Regions from separate parts of the Homo sapiens genome. Here region 2 is linked to region 1. The links are contacts of gene promoters, found by promoter capture Hi-C in human tissues and cell types (Jung and others, 2019). All regions are on one chromosome and are shown on one strand. Each heading gives the region's core, a stretch centred on a gene start or on the middle of the fragment in contact. The rest is flanking DNA. Distances are from core to core; before and after follow the strand shown.

Evidence for each region. Contacts are between HindIII fragments. The study calls those that stand out against the background at their distance.
Region 2: a contact is called between a fragment that was not itself captured here and the fragment with the promoter of SERPINE3 in region 1, in 1 of the 25 tissues and cell types used here (aorta).

The regions. Positions count from the first base shown.
Region 1 is chr13:51,336,033-51,342,660 of GRCh38, reverse strand. It overlaps SERPINE3 (serpin family E member 3), which reads right to left and starts at 2,970. Exons shown (of 10, transcript NM_001386375.1): 1 at 2,918-2,970; 2 at 1,800-1,877; 3 at 1,314-1,586. The coding sequence starts at 1,569. It also overlaps a transcript of INTS6 not described here. The HindIII fragment of the contact is 9,065 bases long and covers 1,902-6,628 here.
Region 2 is chr13:51,387,754-51,394,554 of GRCh38, reverse strand. It overlaps INTS6 (integrator complex subunit 6), which reads left to right. Exons shown (of 18, transcript NM_012141.3): 6 at 5,111-5,236. Among named protein-coding and RNA genes, the nearest start is that of MIR5693, 43 kb to the right of the region's middle. The HindIII fragment of the contact is 3,610 bases long and covers 3,715-6,801 here.

The sequences.
Region 1 (6,628 bases), core at 1,721-4,220:
ACCCACATTCTTTTAGTCAGAAACATTAAAATAGTAGAGTAAGTTGGCTTGAAGTGAATTTTTGTGTGAAATCTTTTCTCTGCCCTAGCCTAGTTTGTCCATGCACATTTGCACACAGGAAGAACATTTTTAGACCTGCCAGAATATGCAATGACAGGGTAAAAAATGCCGGAGGTTGACTGTGTTCATAGACATTGTGCTAAACACTCAACACTCCTGATCACACTGAATGCTTTTGACAGTCCTGTGAATTGAGGGCTATTATTATCCCCATTTTATATATGAGCGAGCAGAGGCCCAGACAGATTAACAAAGGTGCTCAGTGTCACCCAGGTATAGGTGGTGGGGCTTTACTGCCCTGCTCACCCACAGGGTGAAGAATGGGTAGGCCGGGATGACCCTGCCTAGGACAGCTTCATTCCACTTTGAATGAACGTGAGGCCGCAGAGCTCATAGCCTCTTTTTTTTTTTTTTTTTTTTTTGTTCTGTCTTTGCTGAATTCCTAGATCCTAGTCTAGGAAGAAAAATGTTAATGTGTGTGAGTATCTGTTTTAGCTGGAGTTGGTAGATTGGTTCTGAGGCCAGGCATTGAGCTGAGGCACTGAGCGTAAGCAGAGGGGAAGCTGACCTGGCATTCGAAAGACTCATGCTGCTGCCGGCAAAGCCGCTCTAAAATACATAATCCATAGAAATAAGCTGGCAGATCTGGCACTGGCTAGAAGTCACAGATTTATAAAAGCAGGTTGGTCAAAAGCATGGGCTCTTAAACCAGGCAGCCTGGGCTTGAGTCCCAACTCTGTCACTTATTGGCTCTGTGAACTTGAGCAAGTTGCTTCAACTCTCCATGCCTATTTGCTCATCTCTGAAATTGGGATGATAATAAAATTATCATCCTCAACAGAGCTGTTGTGACAATTAATTCAATTAATGTTTGTAAGTGCCTCCAGCACTGCCTGGCACCTAGGAAGGCACTATGCTAGGGTGTGTCAAATGAAACTGAAACATTGCCATGAAACCTATTAGGTTAGAAGGGAACCTTAAAATTCAAGGGTCACCACCATCCCAAAGTCTGAATGCCTTCTGTCACAGACCTGTCCAGTGATCACTCTTCCCCATGTGCACACCATAGGGAGCTGAGCTCCCTATCTCCCAGGTAGCCTGAGCAGCAGGGTGAGCTGGAGAGAGTGAGTGTGAGTATGAGCAGCAGGGTAAGCTGGAGAGAGTGAGTGTGAGTGTGAGCAGGAGGGTGAGCTGGAGAGAGTGTGAGTGTGAACAGGAGGGTAAGTGAGTGTGCACGTGGGCAGGCCTCTTACCATGGACAGTGTACCCCAGGGCATCTGCCAGCTGCTGACCAGTGCTCCCTTCTGCTCCAAACTGCAGGATCTCCAGGGGGAGGGACACACCAGCAGGAGAGATGACAAAGTTCGTCTCATTTCTACACGCGGCCACACTCTGGTAGAGGTGAAGTGCAAACTCAGTCTTCAGCAATGTCATTCCTTCACGGAGGTGGCCATTTGCTCGGAGGCAGCAAGAGTGAAAGAGGAAGAGGGTGATCAGGAAAGGCGGCATGGAGGCTGGGAGGGTTCCTGCAATTCAGAGGGAAGAGATGCAGGGTAGGCTGGAAGCTGGTGATGAAAGAGGGCCATGTCCCACAGAGGACTGGGACCCCCAGCTCTGTTTTTAGGGGCTAGGGACGGCTGAGGGAGAGATGCATTGAGCTGTCTTGGTTACCTACCCTGAGGCCCAGCCGTCTGGGCTGCAGAGCTGCACCCTCTTGTTTCAGCATTAGAAATACTCACTGTGGTCCTTTGGCAGCCAAACTGTGGGTCTGAAGATCTGCTTCGGCCACTTACTGGATGTGTGACTTTAGCAAAGCCCTGGTCAGATCAGAAGCAAAGCATTATGTTGGGAAAAGAAATGTAAGAGGTAATCCTACTCATTGTTCTTGGTATATAGTCAGCTTATAGCTGTGCTGTGTCTATCAGGAATAATAATAAATAATTATCTACTATGTTAAAAAGGACTTTGTACATTTGCAGTTAATCATCCCAACAATCTCACTAGTATCTGTTATTATATTTCATCTATAAAGAGGATGATTGAACCTTTGAGGCCCAGTGACTCATTTGTATGGGGAAAGAAACAGTGCTGTGACTCAAATCCTGGTCTTCTATGAGTGGTATATAAAATTTTGAGAATACCTATGTGAATTAAAATATTGATACATGAACTAATTGTACCTCGAATATCAGAATTCTTGTGATGCAAATTAGTCTCTAAAAAAGAATATTTTCACAAAGATAGTTCCTACCCCAGAAATGTACTCTTCCAAGGAAGAGAGATCATTAACTAGAAAATAATGCAAGAAGAGAAAGGCAAAGTAAAAAAATGTTTTCAACGACCATGCCACACATCCAGCCAGCAGCAGTTTTTGTTAAGTTGTCTGACTGTGGTATCATACCAAACTGATGTAAGAAGAGGTCCAGAGTCACTTCCTGGACTCACCAGTGAGCAGCTCACCCTGCTACTCACGCTCACACTCACTCTCTCCAACTCACCCTCCTGTAGAAGTTTACAAGCAAGGCCACTGAGCACGATGGTGCCTATTTTAGGTAAAGGTCCAAGATAGAAAACATCTTCTCTTTTTTCCAACCCTTCCTCCCTACAGCCAAGTACAAATGCAGTGCTTGGATGACCTTGGTACATAGGGCTCTCTCTCTCTCTCTTTCTTTCTATGTGTGTGTGTGTGTGTCCCAGCCCAGGGTCATTTGCAAAACTCTTAAGCCCCAGGGTTCTCACAGCTCTTATAACCTCCCATCTCCCACAAGAACACTCTCAGCAATCAGACCTTGATGCCCCTGGGCTCCCCATGAACAAATCCCTGTCATGGCTCACCTCGAATGAGCCACGTACTCACAGACTTTTGTATCACTGTTGCACGTTTCCTTGCTCGACTCTGTTCTTGTGGGTCTCCAGCATTCATGTGCTCCCCTTTTAAAAAAGTGGAGCAGAATCTGCTTTGAATCACAAGACAGCACAGAGAGGAAGCTGGCGATTGCCGTCTCTGCCGGCGATGTCTCTACCACTCGGTCCAAATTCCTGGAGCCTGGAGGTCCTGCAGAGAGCCAGGAGAAGCAGCCCAGCCCAGGGCAGCAAAGCCCAGATCGGGAACAGAGCAGGGCCGTGGGGGGAGAGCCAGCCACACCCGTCAAGCCTTCTTAGGCTTGTGACCTGGTTGTACCAGCAAGGAACCCCTCATCCAGCCCTTTGTCACATTGAGGAATTCCACTGATAACTTTGCTTGTTGGGCTTTTGCTGGGTACCAGGTACCTAATGCTTCCCCCCTCCTCCTGTGAAGAAAACAATAAATCAGTCATTGGGCATGACTTAAAACTTTCAGCAAATGAAAAGAAATTCTGCAAAAGAGAAAACAACGCAAGATATGGCACGATCAGTTCGGAGCAGGGTGACTTGCCTCATTTATTATTTATCAAAGTGAATGCACTAATTTATATATGTAACTTGAGTTATTAATAATCTGGTTCTTCTCAGATACAACAGTTCGTAAGTCCAATGACTAATTTGAGAAAGAGACCATGTTGTCAACGAGTAGACACATATTTTTGAAAAATATGAGCAGGTTCTGTCAAAAGTCTGTCCTTGTGATCAATTCAGAATTACATACATTTTTATTAAGGACTTAGGCCTTGTATTAAGTTCAAAATAGATGGTAGCTTATATGTGGTTACAGATTAAAGAAGAACTGAATGCAATTCTTAATAATTATCTCTCAGGCATCTGTAAGTGTTAATATTTGAAAATCAATGGACTGTTTTCACTTGACAACTACCCCTGTAATCAGTGGGTAATTCACTTTAAAGAGTTTTATTGCTGACACCCAAACCTGGGATTGTTTACAGGTCTTAGGATAGTTACAGTTCTATAATTGCATCACATAAAATATCCCCAAATCTTTACTTTAGATTCAATGCAATTGTGAATGGACAGGGTATTCTCTAAGCCATAGTATGAAAGGAGAATAAACAGGTTTAACTTATTCTATAGCACCCAGAGAGGGCATATCATTCATCCATCTGTCCATCTGTCCATCCATCCATGCATCCATCAATCCATCTGTCCATTCATCTGTCCATCCATCCGTCTGTCCGTGCATCCATCCATCCATCCATCCATCCATCCATCCATCCATCCACCTATCCATCCATCCAACAAATATCTCTTGATCACCTGCTTGGTCACAAATCACTGTGCTGCTAGGTTCTGGGCATATGGCAGTGAACCAGTAACCTGGGCTCAGCTTCTATGGGACTTAGAGTCTTGCTCACTGCCTGCGTATTTTAGATGTTGATGGTGATGGAGCGGCAGTAACTTGTGAGGACTGCCTTGTCACATTGTGAGCTGCCTGTAGCAGGAATTCCAGGGGAAACAGCTGATTCACTATTTGCCAGTGGTAGCAGTGGAGAGAAGCTTATAAAAAGATTTCCCAAATTAAAAAAAGGTTGTTTGTGTAACTTCTACAAACATTTCTTTCTAACTCTATGAATATGCCATTCTAACTTGCTTTTAAGAAGCATCCTTCGGGAAAAATGCTAGGGAAATTTAACATACAGGATATATTTTCTATATAGGCTAAACATTTCAAAGTGTGAATGAATGAAAGATGAACTGCAAGTGATTTTTCTTCTGTGTACTCAGCCTTGAACCTGGGTAAGTCACTGTGGTCTCTGACCATTTAAGCAGAGATTATCATGTTTATTTCTATCTTGCTGGGATGGATGTTCATTATACTGCTAAGTGAGGCTCCATTCTTGGAGATATTTATTTGTAATTTTAACAACATATATAGAGAGCATTACTGAGCACTTACTGTGTTCCAGCTACTCTATTAGACCCTGTCCATTCACAATTGCAATGAATCCTCACAGCAATCCTATGAGGAATGTATTATCATTCCCATTTTGCAGATGAAGAAACTAAGTCTGAAGAGCTTAAGATCTTGCCTAAGGTCCCACCAGGCCAAGCTGGGGTTTGAACCTAGGGCCACCTTGACACTAAGGCACATGCCCTTCATCACAGTCTTGGTGCTGTCAGGAGCCAAGGGATGAGGTCTCTTAAAATCCCTCTTGGCTGTAGGATTCTAAGCCTTTCGATGGCCAGCCCAGACTGTTTTGCTCGTAATGCGTGTTCACTTTGCCCACATTTACCAGGAATGCTGTGGTGAATCACCTGTAGGTAGACTGCTATGAGGCCCAGCACTTTTAAAAATTATGGTTTAACATTTTTCACTAGCCGATTCTTATAAACAAATCACTTTCAAATCCAAAGGTCTACCAAACTAATGTGATGGATAGAAGCATTGCATTTCAATTCAGTAAGGACATAATTAATAGGTAGGCATCTCCTTTGTGCTTGTATGGGCTGCCTGTCTGGGGTTGTACAGGAGGAGTCCCATTTGTAGCCCTGACCTTGAGGATTTTGCCATGAAGAGAGAGCACACCCACTGAGGAAGACATGGGCACTGTTAAAAGAAGTCTGAGGGAACAGCTAGAGCAAGCCAGAGGGCAATGCAAGGTAGCCCAGCACATGGTGCTGCACAGCCAGATGAAATTAGCAAGTACTTCATGGGAAATGGTGCAGGTGAGCCTCCACCTGTCCTTCCAGGAAGGCAACGGCAAAGCGCTGCCGCTGGGCTTCCTGCTGTCCCGGCTGATAGCTGCAACACGGCCCTCTGGTACTTCACAGCTATGCAGTGCATAGACTCAAAATGAACCTGGGCCCCTCTACTTTTTGATACCTTTCAGAATGGTGTGCTGGAGAGAGCACAGTGGGCTGGCAGATTTTGGGCAAGTCACTGAATTGCTCTGAGCTTTAGTTGCCTCTTCTGCAAAGTGGGTGTATGATACCTACCTCTCACTGTGAAGATGACAGCAAACAGCCTTATCATGGTGCCTGATAAGCAGGAAAGGCTGAAAGCATCAACTTCTTTGGACTATGTCCCCATCTCTCATCTCATCTTACTTAAGAAAGGACCATCGAGGTCCTTTCATGCTCACATAAGAAGGGGCTTTGGAATCGTCATGTAACCGGCTGGACTATGAATCTATGCTGTTGTATCCAGAAATATGTTTTTATTTTTTTAATTAATTTTTTTTTGAGACAGGGTTTTGCTCTGTCACCGAGGCTGGAGTGCGGTGGCACGACCTCGGCTCACTGCAACCTCTGCCTCCCGGGTTCAAGCAATTCTCCTGCCTCAGCCTCGCGAGTAGCTGGGATTACAGAGGGCTGCCACCATGCCTGGCTAATTTTGTATTTTTAGTAGAGATGGGGTTTCGCCATGTTGGCCAGGTTGGTCTCGAACTCCTGGCCTCAAGTGATCTGCCTGCCTCAGTCTCCCAAAGTGCTGGGATTACAAGCGTGAGCCACCGCATCCAACTGGAAGTATGTTTTTAAATGTCTTGCAAGAAATAGGTTGGAAACTTTAACAAAGATCTCTAGACTTGAATTTAGAGCTAGTTTTTAATCTAACTTGTAGAAACTAAGTTAATAACTTACTTTGTTATTATGTTAACTATTATGTTATTATGTTAACATAAGTTGTTGCTGCCTC
Region 2 (6,801 bases), core at 4,270-6,769, 49 kb before region 1:
GTGCAAGTCTAGCATTCCACTATTTTACTTATGATAAGGGCCTGTGACATAATCTGCAGACACAGTTGGTGCGCTAATGAGATTCGTCATAGCCAGCTACATAAGAGAAAATGTAAGTTCTAATTAATATTTTAGGTGCATTTTTTCTAAAATTCTATGGATTTTGGAAATCTGCAAAATTCACAGACAAAAAGGGATTAACCTTACACAGGTGTGTGAAATAGATAGAAAGCTGTTATTCATGTCATTAAATGCTTTCATTTTATAGAAATGCTTTTTGTGAACTTTCGTAATGCCTTCACAATTTAATTAACAAAGGGTAAAAAAGGCATATATGTAATTTTTTTTAGGGATAACCTGTCATCTACATTTGAAAATTAATGAACAATTCTCGTTACATAGATAATATTTTTCAGTGACAGTCGTATTTTTTTCTGTGGGAGGGTGCACATTTATATTCATGAAATTTTAGTTTCCAGCTTTGAACTGGCACCCTTGTTAAAAATTCTGATTTTTTTTTTTTTTTAAACTCTGGGGATTTTACTTAACAGGTTCTGAAAGGCTTGGAGGCTATAACATTCTCACATTGGAAATTCCTTACTAGGAATTACTTAGTTTGAACTTAGAATGATGATGAACTTTTGGGACTTAAATATACTATAACTTTTGTCACTAGGATCAGGAATATTCAGAGTGTGAAGTCAAGTGAGTGGTGTAATCAAAGAGTCTGAAAAGAACCATGAGACATCATGTAGCAGTCTTGCCTTTAGGCAGTAATGTATTAAAGCTACTTTGCTTATTCTTTGAAAGGAACATCTCTAGAGAAGTTCCAAAGTCATCCTTGGTGATATCTTTCAATGATGCAGAAATCTTAGTCAAGAAATTAGGAAGTCTTCCCTAAATATACATTCTGAATCCTTCCTGATGTGATAGTTTATTTGCCCCTTTTCATGCTCTTACTAGCAATAAGAGTAAGCCGCTCAAATGTCACTCATCTTTTCATATCTCTGAATAATGTGTTTCCTTTCTTTTTTAATTTAAAGGATGTTCACTAAACAAAGTTTTGGGGAACACCAGAAAAGTAGAAAGAACAAAAAAGATAATACCCACTGGTATTGCACTATCCAAATATGTAATCACTGCTAACAATTCCTGTGCATTTTTAAAACTTAAGGTTGGCCGGGCGCGGTGGCTCATGCCTGTAATCCCAGCACTTTCGAAGGCCAAGGTGGGCGGATTACCTGAGGTCAGGAGTTTGAGACCAGCCTGGCCAACATGGTGAAACCCCGTCTCTACTAAAAATACAAAAATTAGCTGGGCGTGATGGCACACGCCTGTAATCCCAGCTGTTCGGGAGGCTGAGGCAGGAGAATTGCTTGAGCGCAGGAGGTGGAAGTTGCAGTGAGCTGAGATCGTACCACTGCACTCCAGCCTGGCTGACAGAGAGAGACTCTGTCTCACAAAAAAAAAAAAAAAAAAATTTAGTTGTTTATGTGTGTATTTGTGTACATTTATTTTTCCCATTATGGAGTAATTCATGTTCACTAAGGAAATGTTGGAAAAAATTCATCTGTATTGCCAAAATAATAATATATTTCTTTCTATGTATTTTTTTAATTGCATAATTGTAGTCATTGTAAGCATTTTTCTTTTGATATCAGGTAATTAATGAGTGCCCACTCTATGCCAAATAACTGTTACTGGGTGTTGGGAGTACAGCAGGAACAATAGAAAGCTTATGTCTTTGTACTGAGTGACAGATAATAATCATGGAAAATAAATAAATGATATTTTATAGTAGTACTACCTACTACTATTGTAGTAGATAGTAGGGTGCTACCTACTATGAAGACAAAACAGAGTAAGGGAGTGGAGACTAACTTAAGGCAGAGAAAGCATATTCTACCTAAGTTTTCGTCTGAGGAGGTAACATTTAAGCAGAGACCTGAATAATGGAGTTAATTACACAAATATCTAGGCAGAGGAAATGGCAAGGAAAGGGACATGCTCTCTATATATTTGGAAGCAACAGGAAGGCTAGCATGGCTGGAGCTTACATAGGGAGGAATAGAGTAATAGCTAGGTTTAGAGAGGTAGGCAGGGGCCAAATATTGAATGGCTCTTTAGGCTACAATAAATATTTTTTGAGGAAATGGCAAGGAAAGGGACATGCTCTCTATATGTTTGGAAGCAACAGGAAGGCTGGCATGGCTGGAGCTTACATAGCGGGGAATAGAGTAATAGCTAGGTTTAGAGGGTAGGCAGAGGCCAAATATTGAATGGCTCTTTAGGCTACAATAAATATATTTTTATATTCCAAGTATGATGTGAAGCCTTTTGAAGGCTTTTTACGGGAGGTGACGTCTGATTTCTATTTCTGAAATACCACTTCACCTGTTAGATGAGAATATAGAGTGGCAAGAATGAAAGCAGGAAGACTAGTAGTAGTACTTTGTTCTATGCTAGCTTTGGAGGTCCTGAGAGGTGGCTTAATGCAAAAGAGAACCAAGGATGAGGACAATAAGGGAAGAAGCAATCCAGGATGGTTCCCAGATGATTCAGTTGGTCCGAACCACTAGAGATGGATGGCTGTGCCAAGGACTGAGATGGTACACTGGGGAGAAGCAGGTTTAGGGGAGGTGCAAGGATGATAGCAAATTTTAAAATGTGTAATAGACATGTTGTTAAATATATCAAGAATTTTTTAAGTATTTTATAAAAATTATAGATATTTCTAGATTAAATACATTTAACTTTCTTAGCCTCTGTAAGGACTATTGACCAACTTAGAAATGTTCATTTGCTTCTTCTCTATTTGACAAAGATGCTAATACTGCCTTTAGACTCACTATATTTAGTTTGACTTTTTTGTGGACTCTACATAACCCAAAGTGAGACAGCTTCTTGACTTGAAGGTGTGTGCTAATAAAACTTTTTTCACAAATACAAGTAGTGATCCTAGAAACTTTATGCATTAGCACAAAGTGTTGTATATCCCAAGGAGTAAGTTTTGACATAGACAATAAGTACACATGAGGAACATTACGGAGGATATAGGCTCACTTTGTAAAGAAAGCAAAATTTGCTATTTCTGTTTAACTTTTAAAATAATTAATAGATTTTTATTACCAAATGACTCATTTTATTCTTTTTCTCCAATTTTTGTAAAATATACTGATTAGTAATTTTATTTCGTGTTAAGATTGATTTGCTTATGTTTTCTTAATTGATGACACAACTTAGGAGAGCAAGATAATTGTCATAGTTTATATACTTTAAAATTTTTGCTTTTTAATGACATCTTAGGAATATGCTTAAATTTCATGAAATAAGATACTCAACCTTTATGTAAACTTCTAATATTTTGCATGTAAAGATGGTTAGCCTTTTTATGGATTGCTTTTTGTATATACTTAAATTGACTTAGAAAAAAATTTGAATTTACCAATTCTTTCAAGTAAGCATGACTTCATATAGATGCTGTATTTTAAGTACTGATTTCAAATTCACAGAGGATTTCCAAGGGACAAAGGATATCCAGAATAGTTTCTGATACACTGTAAGGGTTTGAATTGTAACTCTATCACTATACTAACTTGGAAAAGTTAGTTAGCCTCTCTGTGCCTTAGTGTTCTCATTTGTAAAATGGGGAAAATAACCCATACAATTGTTGCTGAGATTAAAGAAATTAATAATCATAAAATGATTGGAACAGTGCCAGGCACGTAGATACTCAGTAATTGGTAGATATTTGTTAAGGTTATAATCATCATTATTTTATACAGTTAAGTTGTTGTATTTATTTTTTCTAAGTAAAGCTGACTTTGAGGATTTGAATCACCATTGTCTATAATGTTCTCTTTTCTGAGTAGCCTTTAACAAATCACGTTAAGTGTAAGTTGATATAAGTAATTTGATGTGTCAAATGTAATGATGTAGCTTGTGTTGTGAAATAATTGGTTGAATGTGTAAAAGAGTAGGGCATCATATTGAGCTTATTACAAATAATGTTGCAAAATATTTGGCCAAAGATTGAGTTTTAGCTGTCAAGGTTTTTAGTGTTGGTCTGGATCAGAACTGTATAATAGAAATCTGATTCAAATTTCATATGTAATAAAAAATTTCATAGTAGCCACTTTAAAAATTAAAAATAGATGAAATTAATTTTAATAATATATTTTATTTAAATCAATATATCCTTATTACTTCAGTGTGAGATTGATATTTTAAAATTACTAATGAGATGTTTTATATTTTTTCATACTAAGTCAACAAAATCAGGTGTATATTTTACTTACTATACATTTCAATTCAGACTAGCTATATTTCAAGTTCTCAATAGCTACATGTGTCTAGTATATAAAGTATTGTATAGCAAAGGTCTAGATATTTTTGTTGAAAATTCCTCTTTAAAAGATCTTTTCACTGGTATCTTTTTAAAAAAATCACTAGTATTTAATGCTTCTGAACCAAAAGTAGTATAAGTTAAAACGTACAAAAGGGGAATTCACGTGAGACAGGTAATTCCCAAGTGTTTACATAAGCTAAGTGAAATTCAGAAAAGCACACGCTACCATCTGTATATTAAAATGCAAATATTTAAAATACTTAAAAACTGCCAGTAAACAAGTAGTTATTACATACCTACTATGTGCACAGTAAATCTTAGTGATAATACTTTTGTTAAGCAGGAATAAGATTTTGGGGAGACAGTTACTAGATGTGTGTGTGTATATGTGTTAAAGATAAATTGTATTGCATAACAGTTGGAGATAGTGTTTTTTATATATATGTTTTAAAAAACATAAAATATGTGACTTGTTTTCATGTGTTTTGTTCAGACCAAGAATTCTATGTTCCAAATACCTGTAATTAGAAGAAAAAATGTACATACTCTCACAAAATGGGATTGTTGGTTGGTTGGAAATAATGATTTTTGTGCATTCTTTCATAAGATAATGAAATTAGTCAACTTTTACCATTGAACTTTTGTTAATTAGTACTGTCAGAAACCCCACAGTTGTTTTTTTCTTGCTAATGATAGGAATTCTTGCAACTAACTAGTTTACTATATTCTTCTTCTTCTTCTTCTTCTTTTTTTTAATCTCAGGCCGTTCATATTCTGTGTGTTCTCCAAGAATGCTTAATCAGTGTCTGGAGTCCTTGGTGCAGAAAGTACAAAGTGGGGTGGTAATAAACTTTGAAAAAGCAGGACCAGATCCTTCCCCTGTAGAAGGTATTATTGCACTTTTCTTTTAGACATTCAAAACTTGCTTTATTGTTTATTCAACTAGAACTGAAAACTTACTGTGATTTGGCCTTAAGATAGGCAAGGCCAAATTATTAAGACAGAAAGGCTGTTGGTAAAGAGGGAAGATTAAATAGGAAAGTCAAGGTAAACTAATAGTAGTCTAGTAGCATCACCTTTTTGTATTAATGATTGTCTATTGCCTGACATTTTGATGAGTCAAAAGCCTTTTCAAAGATTTATCGATAAGCAACTTTATAATTTCTTTGTAGTATTATACAATTGCCTCTCAACATATATATGCTTCTCCTATGCCCTTTAATTCCCAAAGTGTTCAGTCCTAGATGTTTAACTCCTTAGCTACTTTTGTACCAGGGATCAAACTGATTGAAAGTAAATGGTTTATTGTGGGTCAAAAATGAGGAACCAGGCTTTGCCATTAAGCTTGATTCTTCTAACTCTAGCTGAGTCCCACCTGGCTTTTTCTTGGCTTCTGTAATCATGAACTATTTCCAATAGCCAGTGGATATAAGGAGTTATAGTAGAACCAATGGATGGTTTATAGTTGAGACCCTCTGCATTGTATGTTACCTATTTCAAGATTTAAGAGTCATTGCTGGGCACGGTGGCTCACACCTCTAATCCTAGCACTTTGGGAGGCCAAGGTGGGTGGATCACCTGAGGTTGGGAGTTTGAGACCAGCCTGACCAACACGGAGAAACTCCGTGTCTACTAAAAATACAAAATGAGCCAGGCGTGGTGGCGCATGCCTATGATCCCAGCTACTCGGGAGGCTGAGGCAGGAGAACTGCTTGAACCCGGGAGGTGGAGGTTGCGGTGAGTGGAGATCACACCATTGCACTCCAGCCTGGGCAACAAGAGTGAAACTCCATCTCAAAAAAAAAGAAAAACAAAAACAAAAACAAAAAAAAACAAAACACACACACACACAAAGATTTAGAGAATCATTTAATGATAATTGGCAGAGGTGGTCCACTAAAGTAGGTACCTGGGAGAAGAGAAAGATCATAGAGATGAAAGAATGGGGGCACTGAGAGGGTACTATAGGGAAGGAATGGGTGATAACAATAAGTTGTGTCATGTCTGCTTTAACGAAACCAAACTTAAAAAAATTTTAATTGTTACAGTGTATTTATTTTAAATTATTTTAATGCTTTGTTTAGAGTTTGTTACTAGTAAATGTTTACTGGATTGTTGAAGATAGTTGCTGTTTTGCTAAAATTATTTTAGATTAAAGGTAGGTGCTTTGGTCTAGATTTGCTTATTAAGTTCTTTTTTTAGGCTTCGGTTAAAATGATTTCTAAGAAATACTCAATTTGCAGTACTTATTTATTCTAGTATTTATTGTGTGCCTGGCACTGTTTTTGACATTTGGGATATGATGATAAAGGTGGCAAATTGGGTGCTTGCTCTTATCATCTGATGAAGAAAACATGCCATTCATCAAACAGATATTCACCGTAAAGTATGTTTTGTGTGTTCCAGTTGGGAAGGCAAAGGATGCTGCGGACCTCCTTTGAACTGGCGAACTC